Linked DNA regions of Homo sapiens: all the other regions are linked to region 1. Evidence: promoter capture Hi-C in human tissues and cell types (Jung and others, 2019). All regions are on one chromosome and are shown on one strand. Each heading gives the region's core, a stretch centred on a gene start or on the middle of the fragment in contact. The rest is flanking DNA. Distances are from core to core; before and after follow the strand shown. Region 1 holds the start of AMN (amnion associated transmembrane protein). Region 2 overlaps TECPR2 (tectonin beta-propeller repeat containing 2). Region 3 overlaps RCOR1 (REST corepressor 1). Region 4 holds the start of ANKRD9 (ankyrin repeat domain 9).

What was found. The method cuts DNA at HindIII sites, captures the fragments that hold promoters and counts their contacts. A contact is called where the count stands out against the background at its distance.
Region 2: a fragment that was not itself captured here is called in contact with the fragment with the promoter of AMN in region 1 in 2 of the 25 tissues and cell types used here (dorsolateral prefrontal cortex and mesendoderm cells).
Region 3: a contact is called between a fragment that was not itself captured here and the fragment with the promoter of AMN in region 1, in 2 of the 25 tissues and cell types used here (H1 embryonic stem cells and dorsolateral prefrontal cortex).
Region 4: the fragment with the promoter of ANKRD9 here is called in contact with the fragment with the promoter of AMN in region 1 in 1 of the 25 tissues and cell types used here (mesendoderm cells).

Annotation. Positions count from the first base shown.
Region 1 is chr14:102,919,675-102,924,639 of GRCh38, forward strand. It overlaps AMN (amnion associated transmembrane protein), which reads left to right and starts at 2,989. Exons shown (of 12, transcript NM_030943.4): 1 at 2,989-3,057; 2 at 4,037-4,155; 3 at 4,261-4,305. The coding sequence starts at 3,015. RefSeq lists silencers at 3,213-3,412, 4,576-4,774. The HindIII fragment of the contact is 38,072 bases long and covers 1-4,965 here.
Region 2 is chr14:102,453,097-102,458,391 of GRCh38, forward strand. The region is part of intron 16 of TECPR2 (tectonin beta-propeller repeat containing 2); the gene reads left to right. Among named protein-coding and RNA genes, the nearest start is that of ANKRD9, 54 kb to the right of the region's middle. The HindIII fragment of the contact is 7,609 bases long and covers 1-5,295 here.
Region 3 is chr14:102,649,507-102,654,649 of GRCh38, forward strand. The region is part of intron 2 of RCOR1 (REST corepressor 1); the gene reads left to right. Among named protein-coding and RNA genes, the nearest start is that of RCOR1, 59 kb to the left of the region's middle. RefSeq lists an enhancer at 3,762-4,261. The HindIII fragment of the contact is 4,634 bases long and covers 143-4,776 here.
Region 4 is chr14:102,506,875-102,511,736 of GRCh38, forward strand. ANKRD9 (ankyrin repeat domain 9) reads right to left here and starts at 2,902. Exons shown (of 4, transcript NM_152326.4): 1 at 2,655-2,902; 2 at 1,767-1,972; 3 at 1,601-1,675; 4 at 1-1,068. The coding sequence starts at 1,015. The coding sequence ends at 62. It overlaps LOC105370679 (a long non-coding RNA gene), which reads left to right and starts at 3,169. Exons shown (of 4, transcript XR_007064352.1): 1 at 3,169-4,677. RefSeq lists silencers at 1,690-1,851, 2,846-3,285, 3,446-3,495 and enhancers at 2,976-3,619, 3,620-4,265, 4,266-4,862. The HindIII fragment of the contact is 3,197 bases long and covers 1,693-4,862 here.

The DNA of each region.
Region 1 (4,965 bases), core at 1,739-4,238:
TCCATCTACCATCCATCATCCACCACCCATCTATCCCCATTCACCATCCACCATCACCTTCCATCCATCCACCATCCATCATCCACCATCCATCTATCCCCATTCACCATCCACCATCACCTTCCATCCATCCACCATCCATCATCCAACATCCATCTATCCCCATTCACCATCCACCATCACCTTCCATCCATCCACCATCCATCATCCAACATCCATCTATCCCCATTCACCATCCACCATCACCTTCCATCCATCTCCCATCCATCATCCACCATCCATCTATCCCCATTCACCATCCACCATCACCTTCCATCCATCTACCATCCATCATCCACCATCCATCCCCATTCACCATCCACCATCACCTTCCATCCATCCACCATCCATCATCCAACATCCATCTATCCCCATTCACCATCCACCATCACCTTCCATCCATCCACCATCCATCATCCACCATTCATAACGCACCACCCATCTATCCCAATTCACCATCCACCATCACCTTCCATCCATCTACCACTCATTCATTCACCATTCATTTATCCACCGTCCATTCATGCATACATCCACCATCCATCTATCCACCATTCATCCATCCACCATCCACTCCCACTATCCATCCATCCACCATCTATCCATCCACACATTCACCATCCACCCATCCACAACCTACCATCCATTCATCCACCATTCACTCATCCACCATCCATTCTCCACCATCCATCTACCCATCCATCCCTCTACCCATTCACATATCCACCATCCACTCATCCATCATCCACAATTCACTCATCCAGCGTCCATTCATCCATCCACCCATTCACACATCCACCCATCTACCATCCACCATCCCTTCATCCACCATCCACCCATCATTCACTCACCCACCATCCACCATCCATCCATCCACCCATCTATATGTCCATTCACCCATTCGCCATCCACTCATCCACCACCCACCATTCATCTATCATCCCTCATCCACTGTCTACCATCCACCATTCATCCATCCACCCATTCACCCATCCACCATCCATCCATCCACCATCCACTTATCCACAATCTGCCATCCACCATTCGCCATTCATCCATCCATTCATCCACCACCCATCACCATTCACATCCACCATCGGCCATTCACCATCCACCATCCACCATCCACCTATTCACCATCCACCATTCACTCATTCACCACCCATCCTTCCATCCACCCACCATCCACCACCCACCATCCACCAACCACTATTCATCTTACCATCCACCATCCACCATCTATCATCCACTATCTACCATCTGCCGCCCATCCATCCACTTAATATTCACCATCTACTCATCACCATTCACTTGTCCATTATCCACCACCCACCAACCATCATCCACCTACCATCCATCATCCACCATTTATCCATTATCTACTTATCTACCATCCATTACCCATCCATTTATCATCCTATCCACCATCTACTATCCACCCATTATCCACTATCCACTGTCTATTCACTATCCACCATCTATTCACTATCCACCGTCCATCTCCATCCACAATTCACCATTTATGCAACCATCATCCACCATCTATCCATTTACCATCTATCTATTCACCATCCACCATCCATCCATTCAGCATTCATCACTCACCAAACATCCACCATTTAACACCCACTTTTTTTTTTTTGAGATGGGGTTTCACTCTTGTTGCCCAGGCTGGAGCACAGTGGCGTGATCTCCGATCACCACAACCTCCGCCTTCCAGGTTCAAACGATTCTCCTGCCTTAGCCTCCCAAGTAGCTGGGATTACAGGCATGTGCCACCATGCCTATCTAATTTTGTATTTTTAGTAGAGATGGGGTTTCTCCATGTTGGTCAGGCTGGTCTCGAACTCCCGACCTCAGGTGATCTGCCCGCCTTGGCCTCCCAAAGTGCTGCGGTTACAGGCGTGAGCCACCGTGCCCCGCCAACACCCACTCTTTATGATCTACCTGTCGGCCATGTATCCATTTATGCCATTATCCATCCACCACTCCCTGATTACCATCCATTCCTTTTCCTTTTTTTTTTTTTTTTTTTGAGACGGAGTCTCGCTCTGTCGCTCAGGCTGGAGTGCAGCGCACGATCGTGGCTCACTGCAAGCTCCACCTCCTGGGTTCACGCCGTTCTGCCTCAGCCCCCCAAGTAGCTGGGACTACAGGCGCCTTCTACCATGCCCGGTTAATTTTTTTGTATATTTTTAGTATAGACGGGGTTTCACCGCGTTAGCCAGGATGGTCTTGATCTCCTGACCTCGCGATCCGCCTGCCTCACCCTCCCAAAGTGCTGGGATTACAGGCATGAGCCACCACGCCCGGCCATTCATTCATTTTTCACTCACCATCCTCATCCATCCATTCATCACCCATCCACCCTCTATCACTCACCATCCACCCCGTCAACCATTTACCATTCATCTGCCATGCGTCCATATGCCGTACACCATGCACCATCAATGTTGCTGTCCATCAGCTGTCCCCTACTCACCATCCACTACTCTCCACCATCATCCACAATCCACCCTCCTATACCATCCACATACCATGTTCCATCCAGGATCTTCCTTCTATCATCCAACCACCACCCACAGCCCATGGGACAGGGGCACTGCGTGGAGAAGTGGACACCCAGTTCCAATGGTGAGCAGACTAGCTCAGCCCTAGCAGCACACAGGACAGAGAAAGGGGTGAATTCAAAGGTCGTTTATTCCCCCTCCCGGCAAGACACCCATTTTACAGGGTAGGTCAGTCTCGCCAAGCCCTTCTTCTTTGCCCTTCTTCCTGAGAACCTAAGGTGTTCAGGCCCTGCAGGGGCGGGTAAGGGGAGGCTGAGAAGGTGCCTCCCAGGGGCCTGAAGAGTCGGCCCTGGGCGGGTCTGGAGGTAAATGTGTAACCGACCCTGGTGCCCCCACCCGACCTGCCTGGTCACGTGGGTCCAGTGGGGCAAAGTCTCCTGGTGGGGTGCAAGGAGCCGAGGCGAGATGGGCGTCCTGGGCCGGGTCCTGCTGTGGCTGCAGCTCTGCGGTGAGCCGGGACCACACCGGTGCGGGCCCGGACGGTAGCGGTCTGTCAGGACCCAGGGCCGAGGTCGCTCTAGGCCTGGAGGGTGAAGATCTTCCGAGGAGTGGGCAGGGAGGGCTTTGGAGGGTTGGGGGCGTGAAACTCGGCCCTGCCTCCCTCGTCTGGCGAGTGCGCAGCCCGGAAGTGCGCGGCCAGTGCATCGGGCGGTGCGGGAGAGGAGAGGAGGGGCTCCGGGAACCTCGGCCAGCCCCGGCCTCCGGCGGCTCCTGCCCTCGCGGTTTTTCCGTCTGCGAAATGGGCGCGGTCCCCAGAACCTGCCGAGAGCAGCGAGTGTGCGCCTGCGGGGCTCGGCAGACCGCCTCAGCTTCCCGGTCCCCAAGGGAGCACTGAGCCCTCCTCCGCCTTCACACCAGGCCGGCGCGTGTCCCTGGCGCCCCCTTCCCTAAACCCCTCGCGGCTCCCTCAGGACAACCCCACCCACCACATTCAGGGCCGGCCTGACCTGGTCCTGCCGCCCCCAGCCCCTTCTTACTTCTCATACCGGGTTGCGCTCTGTCGCAGCTCTTCCCGGCCCAGGTAGGACTCCTCCGGGAAGCCTTCCTGATTCCAAGGCCGAGAAGAGGTCTGTGCTGCCCCATCCTCCTCCATGCCCCAGTTGTCACTGTCCTTAACAACGCTGTCCTCTGCTCCAGCGCCAGGCAAACTGGGGGCAGTGCCGGGAGGCTATCTAGGCAGGCGTCCTGCAGGGCGCGTTTGAGCGGGCTCTGCAGGTATCAGTAGAAGTCCGTTGGAGAGCGCCCGGGCAGGGCGCCCACAGTCTGGCCGGGAGGGACCAGGGTCTGGGTCCGGGCCCCCGGGGATGGGGTTCCTATGCGTCCCGGGTGATCCGCGCGGACCTTCCGCACTTCTCTGGGTGGGTGGCCTTCCCTGAGAAGGGAGCATCCCGGAGAGCATCCCGGGCACTCAGTCGCCTCCTCCCCAGCACTGACCCAGGCGGTCTCCAAACTCTGGGTCCCCAACACGGACTTCGACGTCGCAGCCAACTGGAGCCAGAACCGGACCCCGTGCGCCGGCGGCGCCGTTGAGTTCCCGGCGGACAAGGTGCCTGGGAGCGCCGGCGGGGTCGGTGATGGGCCTGGACCCCTGAGACCGTGTGGCCCCGGTGGGGGTTGCTCCCGGCTCGGCTGAGGCAGCTTCTTCCTGCAGATGGTGTCAGTCCTGGTGCAAGAAGGTCACGCCGTCTCAGACATGGTAAGGCCGGGCTGCTACTGCCACTGGGCTGGGGGTTCACAGAGTCTCTGAAGCGCCTTCAGGGACTGCTGTGCCTTGAGGGCGGACCCCACCGGCATGGAGGCACTGCAGGACTGGGACTTTGGCCTCTGGAGAATATTCTAGGAGGCAGGGAGTGGGGGGGAACCTAGGGGAGCTTGGTCCCATGGTCCCAGCCAGGCTGTGTCCTGGGAGGGATGGGAGGCACCCCTGTCCCCACAGCCCTTGTGATGCCCAGCAGTGGGTGGTCTTCCCAGGAAGCGCCTGCTCCATGCCCTTCCCCCAAAGCCTTGCCTTGTCCTGGTGCCTAAAGCTCCATCTTTAGAACACTAGGGAAAGTGTCCCCAACACCCCCCCCTCTACCCACCATCCGGGTCCCTGGCCTGTTAGGAAGTGGCCGCCCAGGAAGAGGCGAGCCCACTCCTGCCTGGCTCTGCCTCCCTTCAGATCAGATCAGATTCTCCTAGGGACCCCTATTGTCACTGCGCCAGCGAGGGGCCTGGGTGGGTGTGCACTCCTTAAGTGGCTGACATCTGAGATGGGACAGCTTAATCCTGAAACCTTCCCCACTCCCATCAGTCCATGGAAGAACTGTCTTCCACAAAACTGGTCCCTGGTGCCAAAAAGGTTGGGGACTGCTGC
Region 2 (5,295 bases), core at 628-3,127, 470 kb before region 1:
CCAGATATAGGAGGACCTGCATCCACTAGCTCCTGCTTTTCTCTGAATCTTCTATCAAAAGCCGTGGAGTAGGCTAAGAAATGTAGTGCTATTTGTAGGCCGGGCGCAGTGGCTCACACTTGTCATCCCAGCACTTTAGGAGGCTGAGGTGGGTGGATCACCTGAGATCAAGAGTTCGAGACCAGCCTGGCCAACATGGTGACACCCTGTCTCTACTAAAAATACAAAAAAAAATTAGGTGGGCGTGGCAGTGCACGCCTGTAGTCTCAGCTACTCAGGAGGCTGAGGCAGGAGAATTGCTTGAACCCGGGAGGCGGGGGTTGCAGTGAGCCGAGATCATGCCATTGCACTCCAGCCCAGGCAACAGAGCGAGATTCTGTTTCAAAAAAAAAAAAAGAAGAAGAAAGAAAGAAATGTAGTGCTGCTATTTGTAAATAATTCATTCATGTTCCAAGAAATAATAACATAAGCCCACAACATTAGATTTCTCTCTGAGTAGATTCTTGGTGGATCAGGCAGCATAGGTGTGGTTTGCCTGAAGGTGGAGTTGTGCAGATGGCCCCCAGGGCCCGGATGAGCCCTGCACTTGCAGCAGGACTGACTTAGGAACTTCCTGGCTGCAAGGCTTCCCAGTTTTTTTAACTTAGAACCAGCATTTGGTTATGTGGTAGACTTGAATTGTATAAGCATTTAATGTTTGAAAACTCAATCACATGTACTCACCAAAAAAAAAAAAAAAAAAAGGATGGGGAGAAAGAAAGCAAGAAGAGGGCTGGGCACAGTGGCTAATGCCTATAATCCCAGCACTTTGGGAGGCCAAGGAGGGCGGATCACCTGAGGTCAGGAGTTCAAGACCAACCTGGCCAACATGGTGAAACCCCGTCTTTACTAAAAATACAAAAATTACCTGGGTGTGGTGGCACATGCCTGTAATCCCAGCTACTTGGTTGGGAGGCTGAGGCACGAGAATCACTTGAACTTGGTAGGCAGAGGTTGCAGTGAGCTGAGATCCATGCCATTGCACTCCAGCCTGGGTGACAGAGCAAGACTCTGTCTCAAAAGAAAAAAAAAAAAAAGAAAGCAGGAAGAGAAGGGCTTGTTCCCCTTCTCCCCAAGCCCCTGGCTGCATTGCAGTCTGTATGCTACCAGCTGATGAGAGCCTCTTGCCATTCCGTAAAGCAAGCATCGTCCTAGGCTGCCTGGCAGTGGTTGGTGTGCTCAGCCCCGGGGGCTCCTACAGGGTGCTGAGTAGACATCACCCATTCTTTTGCCTGAAAAGGCCCCTGAACACTAACTCAGCTGAAGAAGCAAGTTCTGTTCCAAGGCTTGGGGACTGAAGGTTTGTCCAGGGCAACTTTTGTTCTTTATGCTTTGGGCCTCCCCACCTGCCTTTTGGACCCACCAGTCACCATCTAGCTTTTTGAGAACACCCGCCTCTCCACATCACTGACAGTGACTGATAGACAAGGCTGAGGCTGAGAGTGGCCTGAACATTGGTGCTGACTGACCTGCCGCCTGCCCTGGAAAGCCTTTCATTTGTTCAGAGACCCTACTGGTCCTGAGCCATTCTCCAGCAGCTCCTACCCAGACTAACTGGAAAATGCCGCTAGTTCCCTCTGAGGGTAAAAAGTCCAGGGCTTGGTGTGTATTCTCCCTGCTCCTGAATCTTGAGCACTGTGGGAGGCTGTGTTCACCTGCACCATTTGGGTGAGAAGCAGAACTGCTTCCCTTGCACGTCCCCTTCCCAGCCCCTCCAGGAAGGCTGCTGCACCGTGGTGGGATTCAGAGTGAATGGGCATCATGCCAGGTTCTGCACTGCTGGAGCCAGCCCTGCCTGGGCCTCCTGCCTCCAGCACAGCTCATGCCTCCCTCCTGGCTCGATCCAGTCCTCCCAGCACCGGCTAGCTGGCCAAAGTGGTGCAGGTCTCTAAGGTGTGTATTTGGGCTTCACTGGGAGGTTTCTCTCGGGGAGAAACCTGGCTTGAGTGGGATTGAGTCTCAAGAGTGTGAGGGAAACAGGAACAAGTCCATCCTGAGTCCAAGATGGCCTTGGGCCATCTGGTGTTCAGCAGATACTCATTGAGGGGTTGGGTGTGTGAACAGAGGGATGGCCTGGGGATCCTGGTCGCTGTGGATGGGCAGGTTTTCACTGACCTCCTGTGTTCCGCCTGCAAAATCATTAGCAAATCAATGTCAGTATCCGGCTGACCCCGAAATGAATCAGACAGCAGTGGGTGCAAGGAGGTCACAGGCAGAGGTGTGGGGACTCATGGCAGAGGCAGGACAGAGCTGGGCCCCAGGCGGGCTCTGGACTCTGGGCAAGCTGCTGTCACCTTGAACCGCAATTTCCTCTCCTTTCTTTTTTTTCCAGGTGGGGTCTCACTCTGTCATCCAGGCTAGAGTGCAGTGGCACGATCTTGGCTCACTGCAACCTCTGCCTTCCCAGGCTTAAGCAATCCTCGCACCTCAGCCTCCCAAGTAGCTGGGACCACAGACATGTGCCACCATGCCCACCTAATTTTTTTGTTTTTTGAGACGGAGTTTCGCTCTGTCGCCCAGGCTGGAGTGCAGTGGCACGATCTCGGCTCACTGCAGCCTCTGCCTCCCAGGTTCAAGCAATTCTCCCTGTCTCAACCTCCCGAGTAGCTGAGATTACAGGCACCCACCACCACACCTGGCTAATTTTTTGTATTTTTAGTAGAGACAGGGTTTCACCATGTTGGCCAGTCTGGTCCTGAACTCCTGACCTCAGGTGGTCCGCCTGCCTCCGCCTCCCAAAGTGCTGGGATTACAGGCGTGAGCCACCACGTACAGTCCCTGCTAACTTTTGTATTTTGGGTAGAGATGGGGTTTTATCATGTTGGCCAGGCTAGTCTTGAACTCCTGACCTCAAATGATCCACCTGCCTTGTCCTCCCAACGTGCTGGGATTACAAGTGTGAGCCACCATGCCCGGCCTTGGTTTCCTCTCCTTTCTAATGGGAGCAGCAACCCCCAAGCCCAACCCCCTGGAGGATGCACGGGGCATCCCGTCTAAATGTTGGCCATCTCCGGGCGGTGTGGTCATCCTAAGGCTGTGACACGTCTTGCTTGGGGGTGCTCTCTAGTCTTTGTTAGCTGCTGGTGGTGGGGCTTTTGCTTGTGTTGCCCCAGTTTGTGCCACAGGGAGGACAAATCCAGCATCTCTTGTTAAAGCACCACCTCGCTTAGTCCTTATCCTGCCCTGAACTTTAGATTTTGTTTATTTGAGTTATCTGGTTGATCTTGAAATGTCAGATTAAGACTCCTTTCCTGTTTCCTACACATCCTGAGAGAATGCAGCAAGTCCAGGGTTGGCAGCTTTGTGTTGGGGCAAGGGAGGTGAACAGGCAACCGGGACTCCCAGGCTGTTCCTCTGCACACGCACCTATCCCCTCAACGAGTATCTGCTGAACACTGGAGGGCTCGAGGCCATCTTGGACTCAGGGTGGACTTGTTCCTGTTTCCCTCTCGCTCTTTTTTTTTTTTTTTTTGAGACAGAGTCTCGCTCTGTTGCCCAGGCTGGAGTGCAGTGGCGCAATCTCGGCTCCCTGCAAGCTCTGCCTCCTGGGTTCACGTCATTCTCCTGCCTCAGCCTCCCGAGTAGCTGGGACTACAGGCTCCCAACACCACGCCTGGCTAATTTTTTGTATTTTTAGTAGAGATGGGGTTTCACCGTGTTAGCCAGGATGGTCTTGATCTCCTGACCTCGTGATCTGCTCGCCTCAGCCTCCCAAAGTGCTGGGATTACAGGTGTGAGCTACCGCACCCAGCCTCCCTGTCACTCTTAAGTTGAGACTCAATCTCACTGAAGCTGAGTTTCTCCCCTAGAAAGAACAGCCACCTCCCCAGCCTTCACTATGCCAGGGTAGGGGCAGTGAGCATCAGGCCAGGGGCACCAGGTGTTCAGTTATTAGGCTCTCTCCAGGTATGGTCTGTGTCCTGCAGGAAAAGCAGGTAGGTCAAGAGACTTCTCTTTTTGTTTGTTTGAGACAGAGTCTTACTCTGTTGCCTAGGCTGGAGTGCAGTGACACAATCTTGGCTGACTGCGACCTCCGCCTCCTGGGTTCAAGTGATTCTCCTGCCTCAGCCTCCCGAGTAGCTGGGATGACAGGCATCCACAGCCATGCCCGGCTAATGTTTGTGTTTTTAGTAGAGACGGGGTTTCACCATGTTGGCCAAGCTGGTCTCGAGCTCCTGACCTCAACTGATGCACCCGTCTTGGCCTCCCAAAGTGCTGGGATTACAGGTGTGAGCCACTGCGCCTGACCCAAGAGACCTTTTAATAATTACTTATTTAAGTGAAAATTTTGAATGCAGGTGTGCTGTCTGCCCAGGAGCCCGTGTATGACTGTGCATGGCGGCTGTCATCAGGTGGCATGCATTGAATGGGGATTATTGACTGTAAAGGAGAGTCATCAAGCTGACATGGCTGCTGCCTGTGTTACTTATCTGGAATTAATTGGGGTGCTTCATTTATTTTTTACAAGTCAGCAGTGGGCCGGGTGCAGTGGCTTACACCTGTAATCCTAGCACTTTGGGAGGACTGCTTGAGGCCAGGAATTTAAAACCAACCTGGCCAACATAGCAAGACCCCATCTCTAAAAATATTTGTTAAAGTCAACAGTAGGGGGTGCACACAGCAATGAATGGAAACACAGTGACTGCATTTGAGGATGTTGTTCAATATCAAATTTAGCCTCCCCCAATTGTGCTCTTCTTCCTAACTTCGCTCCTCTGCTCCCACTAAATTCCCTTTTTTTTTTTTTTTTTTTTTGAGATAGTGTCTCACCATGTTGCCCAGGCTGGAGTGCAATGGTCTGATTTTTGACTCACTGCAACCTCCGTCTCCTAGGTTCAAGCGATTCTCCTGCCTCAGTCTCCCAAGTAGCTGGGATTACAGGCCTGTGCCACCCCGCCCAGCTAATTTTTGTATGTTTAGTAGAGACGGTGTTTCACTGTGTTGGCCAGGCTGGTCTCTAACTCCTGACCTCAGGTGATCCACCCGCCTCAGCCTCCCAAAGTGCTGGGATTATAGGTGTGAGCCACTGAGCCCTGCTGCTCCCAGTAAATTCTGCTGGAAAGACCAGAGTGCTCTTTTGGCCAGTCGCTCAGCAGTGTCCTGGCCATCTACCCGAGGATCTCCCTGCTTCTGGACCTCTGCTTCCCTCCCACCACTGTCAGGGTGGAGCCCCCTCGTCACCAAGTTGCTGTACTGCAGTAGCTGCCTCCTGGCACCAGGTGTGCCCACCTCCCACCACGGCTACCAGAGCTGTCT
Region 3 (5,143 bases), core at 1,210-3,709, 270 kb before region 1:
TTCTATTCCATGCACCAGGGCAAGACTAGGATTAGGAAGCAAGTGATGTGAAGTAGACAAGCATGGCTGCCAGGTTTCAGAGGCAGCGTTTTCTAGCGGTGGTGTCCACTATGCACTGCCAAGTGTCCTTGTGTTTAACACCTGCAGCAGTTAAGACCTCCACTGAAGCAGTTCTGTGGGGTAATTCTGGTGTTGTCCTAGTTGCATGGCTTGTAAATCTGGTTTGATGACCTTCCTGTAGAGCCATTTAGTTGCTTATATTAGCTAGAATGGGCTTTGTTTACTGTAAAAAATCTGGTTGACGAAATTGGCATTAGGAATGATCCTCAAGAAAATGAATTGGTTATCTAACTTGGTTGTGTATGAAGGCAGTGAAGAAAGGTGAGAGCTTAAAGAATCATAGTGGCCTTGGGCCGGGCGCGGTGGCTCACACCTGTAATCCCAGCACTTTGGGAGGCCGAGATGGGCGGATCACGAGGTCAGGAGATGAGACCATCCTGGCTAACATGGTGAAACCCCGTCTCTACTAAAAATACAAAAAGTTAGCCGGGTGAGGTGGCGGGCACCTGTAGTCCCAGCTACTCAGGAGGCTGAGGCAGGAGAATGGTGTGAACCTGGGAGGTGCAGCTTGCAGGGAGCCGAGATCGCACCACTGCACTCCAGCCTGGGCGACAGAGCGAGACTCCACCGCAAAAAAAAAAAAAAAAAGAATCATAGTGGCCATGGGCATGGTGGCTGGTGCCCATAATCCTGGCACTTTGGGAGGCTGAGGTGGGAGAATCACTTGAGGTCAGGAATTAGAGGCCTGCAGTGAGTGCCACTGCACTTCAGCCTGAGGGACAGAGCACAGAGCAAGATCCTGCTTCAATAAATGGATGGATGGGTGGGTGGGTGGGTGGGTGGATGGAGGAATCATAGTGATCAGCAGTGCTTAATGACTGAGATTAGTCTATTCTGAAGTATGTTAATAAAGCTTGAAGGATCAGAGGAAGAGAGTAGGAAAAAAGCACACACATTCTACAAACCTCGCCACATCCACTCAGTTAAAAGACAGAACAGGATTCCCTTGGATGTTGGGAAAGGGAAGTCAGACGTGAAAGTTGTAGACAGGATTAAGCCACTTAATTTTCCTATTAAATGGACTCTAGAGAGTAAGTTCATGCTTCTCATTTTACTGATGGAGAAGCAGTACCACATACTTGGTGAAATTCCTGTGTCTGCAAAACATTGGTTATTCTGCAATTGTTATATATAAAGGGATAAACATTGAAGTTATTGGTCTCTTCCTTCTCATTGGTATTGTGGGTGTTCTTTACCAACTGAGTTAGGAACTGACTTGAGATATTTTAAACTTACGGGACTTGATTTAGAGCACTTACTCTTAGATGTTAAATATTTGGTTTGCTCTTTATTGAATAACTTAATTATCTTATTACTAATAATTCCTGTATTAGACAATGAGACTTAGACTCATAATAGAATACAGGTATCTTAATGAGAATGTTCTCATTTAAAACACTAACTCCTAATTCACTAGCAGCTAATAAAACTAACATTGTTGCACAGTACATTGTTGACTAGTTAGAAGAATTTGACAGTATGTTTGGTGCTGAGACCAGCTCGGTCGGGGAGACCCTAACCCAGCGGCGCTAGAGGAATTAAAGACACACACACACAAATATAGAGGTGTGAAGTGGGAAATCAGGGGTCTCACAGCCTTCAGAGCTGAGTATTGCTATTAATAAAGGGTGTAGAATTTGAAAATAGGCCAGGCGTGGTGGCCCACGCCTGTAATCCCAGCACTTTAGGAGGCCGAGGAAGGCGGATCATGAGGTCAGGAGGTTGAGATGAGCCTGACCAACACAGTGAAACCCCGTCTCTACTAAAAATACAAAAATTAGCTGGGCGTGGTGGCGGGTGCCTGTAATCCCAGCTGCTCAGGAGGTTGAGGCAGGAGAATTGCTTGAACCTGGAAGGCAGAGGTTGCAGTGAGCCGAGATTGCGCCACTGCACTCTAGCCTGGGCAACAGAGTGAGACTCCATCTCAAAAAAAAAAAAGAAAAAGAAAAAAGAATTTGAAAATAGCTTGAGAGACTAGAGAAGAAGTGAACTGATTTATTTTATATTTATGTATCTTATTTTTTGGCTTGTTGACCAGAAGTGAATTGATATGAATAAGCACACTTGCAAAATAAATGGGTTATTTATTTATTTATAGAGACAGGGTCTTGCTTTGTTTCCCAGGCTAGAGTACAGTGGCACCATCATAGCTCACTACTGCTGCTGGCAACTTCTGGGCTCAACGGGTCCTCCTGTCTTGACCTCCCAAAGTGCTGGGATTATAGGCATGAGCCGTCATGCCTGGCCCCCTAATTATTTAGATAGCCCTGTAGACCTGATTTCTTGTGGCTGAAGGTCTCTCAAATTGATTCTCAGTAGGCTTCATAAATAAAAGGGAACTTACACTGGAGGATCTTTATGCTGAATTGGCTTAGAATAAGTAGAAATTGCTAGGAATGTTTTATTTTTGTTTATTTAATTTGCTAAATCTGCTTTAGATATGAGCCTTGTAACTGGATTTCTTAAAAGTGTCCTTATGATTGAATCTATTTGTGGTGTTTGGATTGATTATTTTAAGTTCCTACTATGTACCAGACGTTTGCTACTTGTTTTAACTTGCTGTTTAATCTCTTTGAAGAAGGAACTGTTTCCTCCATTTTTATAGAAGAGAAAATTGAAACTTAAAGAGATTAGAGAACTCTCCTTCAGTCTAGGCAGAGCTGGGATTCCATTTCAGGACTGTTATGCTACACCAAATAAATGCTTGCTGCGTTAAAGAATGACTTAACAGTGAACACCTTAAGTCTTCATTGCCCAGTTACGTGAATGGAAGAAAGGCTGAGCAGTGAATTACAAACACTCTCTCCTCTAGTCTTCTGGCAGTGTTCCTTTACCTAATTCTGTGTCCTCAAACGCCCTGTTTTCTTTAGGTGATTATATTATTTGTTTCTTTTAAGCTTGCCTGTCTGCTTGTTCTTCTGAACAGTTCCCTTCAAATGTTACACCATCCACCCACATCTGTATTTCAGTATTTTATTGTGTCCTTTCATTGAGACTCTAATTTGGGTGAAAATTCTCCAAACTACATTTCTTTTTAGCATATTCTATTTTTGTCACCTAGAATCAGCCTCCCAGCTGACTTTTTCCCATAGATACGTAACAACCACCTGCTTTAACATTTTCTATCTTCCACTTAACAAAAATATTACTGTTGATAAATAATGAATACTTAGCATGTATAACTGTGCAAATAAAATGGGAGGAATGTGTATCGGGAAGATTTGAGGGGAGTGTGGATAAAAAACTGTTTGAAAATACCAGCTGTTGAATTTTATAGTGTTACTCTTTTTATTTTTATTTTTTAGTTTTATTATTACTATTTTTTGAGATGGAGTTTCGCTTTGTCGCCAGGCTGGAGTGCAGTGACGTGATCTTGGCTCACTGCAACCTCTATCTCCTGGGTTCAAGCGATTCTCCTGCCTCAGCCTCCCGAGTAGCTGGAACTAGAGGCGCGCGCCAGCCAATTTTTGTATTTTTAGTAGAGACAGGGTTTCACCATGTTGGCAAGGATGATCTCGATCTCTTGACCTCATGATCTTCCTGCCTCGGCCTCCCAAAGTGCTGGGATTACAGGCGTGAGCTACTGCACCCAGCCTATTATTATTTTTTAATTGAGACTTGTCTTACTTTCACCCAGGCTGGAGTGTAGTGGTGCAATCTTGCCTCACTGGAGCCTCCGCCTCCTGGGCTCAATCGATCCTCCCACCTCAGCCTCCTGAGTAGCTGGGACCACAGGCACTCGCTACCGTGCCCAGCTAATTTTTTCTATTTTTGGTAGAGACAGGGTTTTGCCACGTTGTCCAGGCTGGCCTCGGCTTCCCAAAGCGTTGGGATTACAGGCATGAGCCACCACGTGCAGCCTATAGTGTTATTCTTTAGTAGTTCCTAAAAGGCTTGTGTTAGATGTTTATAGCTGATAGTTGTGGTTTGAATCTGTGTCCCCAGCCAAATCTTGTGTCGAATTGTCATCCCCAGTGTTGGAGGTGGGGGCCCATGATTGGATCATGGGGGTGGATATCCCCCTTGGTGCTATTTTCATGATAGTGAGTGAGCTCTCGGGCGATCGGGTCGTCTAAAAGTGTGTAGCACCTCCCTCTTGTCTCTCTTGCTCCTCCTCTGGCCATGTTATATGTGCTTGCTTTCCCTTTGCCTTCCACCATGATTATAAGTTTACTGAGGCCTCCCTAGAAGCTGAGCAGATGCCAGCATCATGCTTCCTGTACAGCCTGCAGAACCTTGAGCCATTGAAACCTCTTCTCTTTATAAATTACCTAGTCTCATCTCAGGTATTTCCTTCTTTCTTTCTTTCTTTCTTTCTTTCTTTCTTTCTTTCTTTCTTTCTTTCTTTCTTTCTTTCTTTTTTTTTTTTTTTTTTTTGAGACGGAGTCTGGCTCTGTCGCCCAGGCCGGAGTGCAGTGGTGCGATCTCCACTCACTGCAAGCTCTGCCTCCCGGGTTCACGCCATTCTCCTGCCTCAGCCTCCCGAGTAGCTGGGACTACAGGTGCCTGCCACCACGCCTGGCTAATTTTTTGTATTTTTAGTAGAGACAGGGTTTCACCGTGTTAGCCAGGATGGTTTCGAACTCCTGACCTCAGGTGATCTGCCCGCCTCAGCCTCCCAAAGTGTCGGGATTACAGGTCTGAGCCATTGCGCCCGGCCAGGTATTTTTTTATAGCAGTGTGAGAACAGACTAATACAATAGCCATCATGTAAAATACAGTTTCCATTTTGAGCCAGGCACTTGGGTAAAAATGAAGAGTAGGTAAAAGACAAGATGTAGTTCTAATTTGAGCTTGTCATTTAGTATTTGAGTAATGCCGCATAATGGCTGTGGGTTTCCGATGACACACACCTTTTCATGATGTGGGTGGCCTAGGGAGTAGTGTGTTTGTTGGAACCACAGTTCTCTGCAGAGGGAATATGATTAAGTCTGATCTTTGTAATTTAGAATTAATGAGGCCAGGCGCACTAGCTGACACCTGTAATACCAGCACTTTGAGAGGCGAAGATGGGGAGGATCAC
Region 4 (4,862 bases), core at 1,652-4,151, 410 kb before region 1:
CCGGTACAACGCTCTGAAAAATAGTTTTGTCCCAAAATCCAGCGCCTAGGGTGCTCCGGGCCTAGCCTTTGCCAGTGAGGTCCAACGGCTGCAGGAATGGGGGCAGCGGCAGCTCGTCCAGGGCCTCGGGGAAGCGGCCTGGAGAGATGGCGGTGACCAGCACCTGCATGGCGCGCGCGAAGAGCGAGGGCGGCGCCAGGCCCGCCAGCCACTGGAACTTGTCCTCACCCAGCAGCCGCTGCCAGCGCGGCCGGTCGCCCAGCAGCTCCTGGCGGGCCGAGCCGGCGGCACCCACGGGGGTGTACAGCGCCAGGAGGTCCAGCAGCAGCAGGCGGCGCTGGCGCGGCTCCCCGGGAGCTGAGGCGGGGGCTCCGGCGGCGGAGGGAGTGGCCCCGGCGTCGCGGCCCAGCTGGCGCAGCAGCAGCTCGAGAGGCGTGAGGCCGCCGCCGTCCCGCAGACCGGGCGAGGCGCCGTGGCCCAGCAGCAGGAAGAGGCACTCGGGGCGCGCCAGCTCACAGGCCACGTGCAGCGACGTGCCACCGCCCTCCACGCGGCTGCAGCCACGCCGGTCCAGCACGCGCGCCCGCTCCTCGGCCGGGAAGTCGCGCAAGGTGCGCAGGATGCGGCGCAGAATGCCCACGCGGTTGTAGCGCACTGCCAGCGCCACGTGCGGCCCGGGAGCCGCGCAGCAGCGGAAGCCGGCACTGGGCGGTGCGAGCGCGCGCCGCGGGAACGTGGCCAGCAGGTAATGCGCGTACGCTTGGTGGTCGTGCACGAGCGCGTAGAGCAGCGCCTCAGAGGGCGAGTAGGCGGCGGCGCGCCCGCGCTCGTCCCAGTGGAAGGCCTCGCTGGCGCGCATATCCTCCAGCAGCCACACGGGTAGCAGGTCGCGCACCGCCTGGTAGAAGGCGAACGACGACTTGCGGCACTGCTTCTGCGCTCGCGAGCGCGCCGCGCCCGAGGCCTCGGGCCCGCCGTCCGCGCCACCCCCAGGCCGCCGCGCGTCCCACGGCATGCTGGCGGCGGGGCGTTCCTGGGCCTCAAGGCATGGATCCCGCGAAGGCACACCTGCGGGGAAAGGAAGAGGCCACGGTGAGGCGCGGGGAAACTGGGGAGGCCCGGGGACTCCCCTCTGCCCCTCACACAGCCCCTCCGGTCCTGGCCCACCAGGCCTGTACCTACCTCCAGCCTCGGCCAGGCCCTTCCAGTCACCCTACAGCTCCATCTCTCCGACGCCCAGAACCACCGCCTCCATCCTTGATCTAGCTGTACCTGTTCTCCCTCCTTGAAACTGACTTGCTCTCTGGCACCTCTGCTGGAAATGCCCTTGCTGCCCATGCCCTCAAATCTCCCCTCCCCTCTCCAACCCAGGGACCCACTGGAAGAGCTTCTGTTCCCACCTAAGCCAGGTTCATACGACCCCAAATAAAGAAAAGGCCAGGGAGGGGATGAGAAAGCTTGGGCCCACATCTCAAGCTGAGGCAAATCCACTCTCCAGCCCAAGCGCAACCCTGACCCTGATCTCCGACCCCAGACCACTTGGAGGCCCCTGGAGCCTCTTCCTGGGCTGTTCAGAGGCATGATCCAGACTCAGACCTACCTGGTTCCTGCACCGCGATCACCTAGTTCCGGGGATGTGGGTATATCACAGTCCCTGGCCGAGCCTCAGCTTTATCTGTAAGAAAGGGGAGGGGTGGACGACGGCTGTGCGGGCGGGGTGAGCCTGGGGCGTGGCACCAGCCCTCTATCCAAACATGTTTGCTTACACGTTAGCTCCTGGGAGGAGATAGGAGGGTGAAAACAACCTGGAGACCGGTGTGCACCGCACTGCACAGTCTGCCATCCTCTTCAGGTCCCATACCTCTCTTGATCTCCCCGACTACTAGATGAAGCGGGTACTGCCATCCCACTTTCCAGCAGGGCACAAGCTTCTCCAATTCTCCAAGGTCAGCAAGCCACGGCAGAGCCAGGCCTAGAACTCAGGTCCCCTGCGTCTCAGTTTGGGCTCATTCCAGAATTGGTGGGGACCCCCAACCCACAGGCAATCGAGCTTAGGCCCTGACCCTGCCCTCTGAGTCCCCAGCCCCGACCTGAGCCTAGGCGTCTGACCTCTGGCTCCGTCCCAACCTCCCTACTGCCTTCTTTCAAGGGTAAGCCCTTGGTCACAAGGGGCCTGGGACAGAAGGCAGGCCGCGTCCACACACACTGACTGGGTCACTATCACTGGCAGTAACTGAGTTAAAGAGAGCGGCGCGGTGCGGGTAGGCTGTGGCCCGTGGGCAACACCGTGACTGGAGCCCCTTCCCCAAGCCTGGGCCTCCGGGCCCCAGATATGCCCTGTGCCGGCACGCGTGGGGCGCCGGGCGGGTTACGTAAAGTTCGGCCTCCCCACGTCACCGGGCAGAGTCACGGCCGCGGCTCGTGAATAAGGGGGTTGGGCCATCGAAGGCAGCGCCGCGCCCGGGGCCACCCGCCACCTCCTACCCGTCCCCTCCCGGCCTGCACGGCCAGACGTCGGGCGGCGGAGGGTCGCGGGGCCGAGCGGGGCGTCCGCGCGCAGGTGGCCGGCGCAGCGAGGGCTGCACCTGCGTGCGCGTGTGCCGGAGGAGGAGGGGGCGGCGGCCGCGGGCGCGGCGCGGGGGACGGGGACTCACCATGGGGGGCGCGGGGGCCACAGGCCGGGCGTCCCCGCCCCTGCCGCGGACCGGAGCGCGCGCTGTCCCCCGCGGGCGAGCGGGCAAAGGTCCCACGACGGACGCACGGGAGGGAGCCACCGCCGCCCGCGCCCGCCGCAGCCGCGCTCTGAGCCGCCGCGGCCGGATCGCAGGGCGGCGGTGCCGTCGCCGGCGGCGGGCGGCGGGCGGCGGGCGGCGGGCGGCGCAGTGCGGCCCCGGCCAGGCAGGACAGCGGGACCGTCCGCCGCCGCCATTGGCCCGCGCCGCCGGCCCCCGCCACCACCCATTGGCCGCCGCGCTGCACCATTGTTACGTCACTGGCCGGCGGGCGGGGCGCACCGCTGGACCCGCGGAAAACTTCGGAGAAACTTGAGGGAGCGCCGGCGGGGAGAACGGAGAGGAGGGGCGGGGCCGTGGCGAAAGGGGCGGGGCGTTGATGGGCGGGGGCGGGGCTCCCGGAACCCGAGCTGCGGGCGAAGAAAGGCTCCGAGCTCCGAGCTGCCCTAGCCCGGGAGGGCGCCGCTGCTCTGCGAACTCGGGCGCGCGCGTAGGTGGCCCGCCCTCCGCCGTGCGTGACTTTCCTCGTCGCGTCCAGCTCCCCTTTTCTTTGACCTTACGTGACCTTGGGAAAAACCTCCAGGCTGCTACCCCATCTGCACATGGGAGGGCCGGGGGTAGGAGCCGCGACCCCTAAGGGCTCCACCGCCTTCTGCCCGGCCAGGGTCGTGCCTGGCGCGCCCCCGCTCCAGCTGACCCGCGCAAGGGAGGGAGGGGCGGACGGATGGGGACAGCTGTTTAGGAGCGCGCACTGCGCCCATCTCGGCCTCAACACTCATGTTTCCACTTCGTTTCACGACCACCAGCCACAGTGGACACGATGATCCCCAGTTCACCCGCCAGCAAATCAGGGCTCAGAGAGGTGGCCTCAAAGAGAGGAGCGGCCAGGAGGGAAGCCGGGGGTTTGCCCTGCGGTTCTTCCCACATCTGGGCGGGATAGATTCGATTGGGCCTCGGCCACCCCCACCGTCTCCGTCGGGGGTTCCAAGGTTTGGGGTCATGACCTAGGGGGCTTAGGAGCCTGGGTCCATCTCAACTAATTTATGGCCTCACTCGCCCCCAGCGGCTGGGAATTCTAGGCCCATTTTACAGATGTGGACGCAGATCTGGAGAGGGGCAATGACTGCTCAACCCCCCACCCATCCTCCCAGACACGACCTTCCACCTGGAATCCCCCCACACACGTTCTCAGAGGCCAGGCAGCCGGGGTCTCATGGTGAAATCCCCACATTCCATGCAGGGGCTCTTTCTGGTTCCTTCCCTAGAATGCTGTCCCTGCCCTTCCAGTACTATCTCACCAGGGAGACCCTCCCACTCCCCCACTCCGCTCCAACCAAGCAAGGCCTCTGCCTCGCCCCGGTGGGAGGGGCCTCGTCCAGAGGGCACGCCCCTGCACACACAATCAGCCCTGTCCTGGCTTCTCTGTGTGCCCCAGCCAGTCAGTCTGGGTGGAAGTCTTACCTGGGCCCTCTCAACAGACCTAGGCAGGCCTCTGTCCCCAGCCCAACGAGCTCAATCCCTTAAGCACACACGCCACAGAGCAGTCCTGAGAGGCCAGGTGGACAGTACCATGAGGCAGACAAAGCTGTGAGGCCCAGAGAGGGTCAGGCCACCCCAGCCCAGGTAGGCACTCACATGTATCCTGCCCAGGCTGCCATGCATGGACCCACCAGGGGGATGACCAGACCCCACCAGCCCTGCCCCACCTCAGGGCGGGGGACGTTCCAGGCCACGCCATCTCTCCCAGGGAGTCCATGGCAACTGCCAAGCTTACAGCAGCCAGGTTGTCAGCAGGAGTAGGGGTATAGAGGGCACTGGGCCTGGCATCCGCACCCGCCTTTGCCTCAGCTCCACATGTCTCCTCCTGTATCTAGGCCTATCTCCCTAGGGCTTCTCCCATCTGCCGGTTCTGGATGCCTCTGAGTACGATGGTGGGGAGAGCAAAGTGAGTGAAGGTCCTGGAGTCAACAATCGGCCTTTGGGAGCCCAAACCCTGGGGGACATCTTGGGGAGATGGTGCCCATGTGGGCTGTCTGTGGCTCAAGGCTCCCCTGCTCTCTTGCCCTCTTCGAAGGCTGGAGTTGAGATACAGCCGTCTCCATGGCTACTGGTGGAATGAGGGTGAAAGGG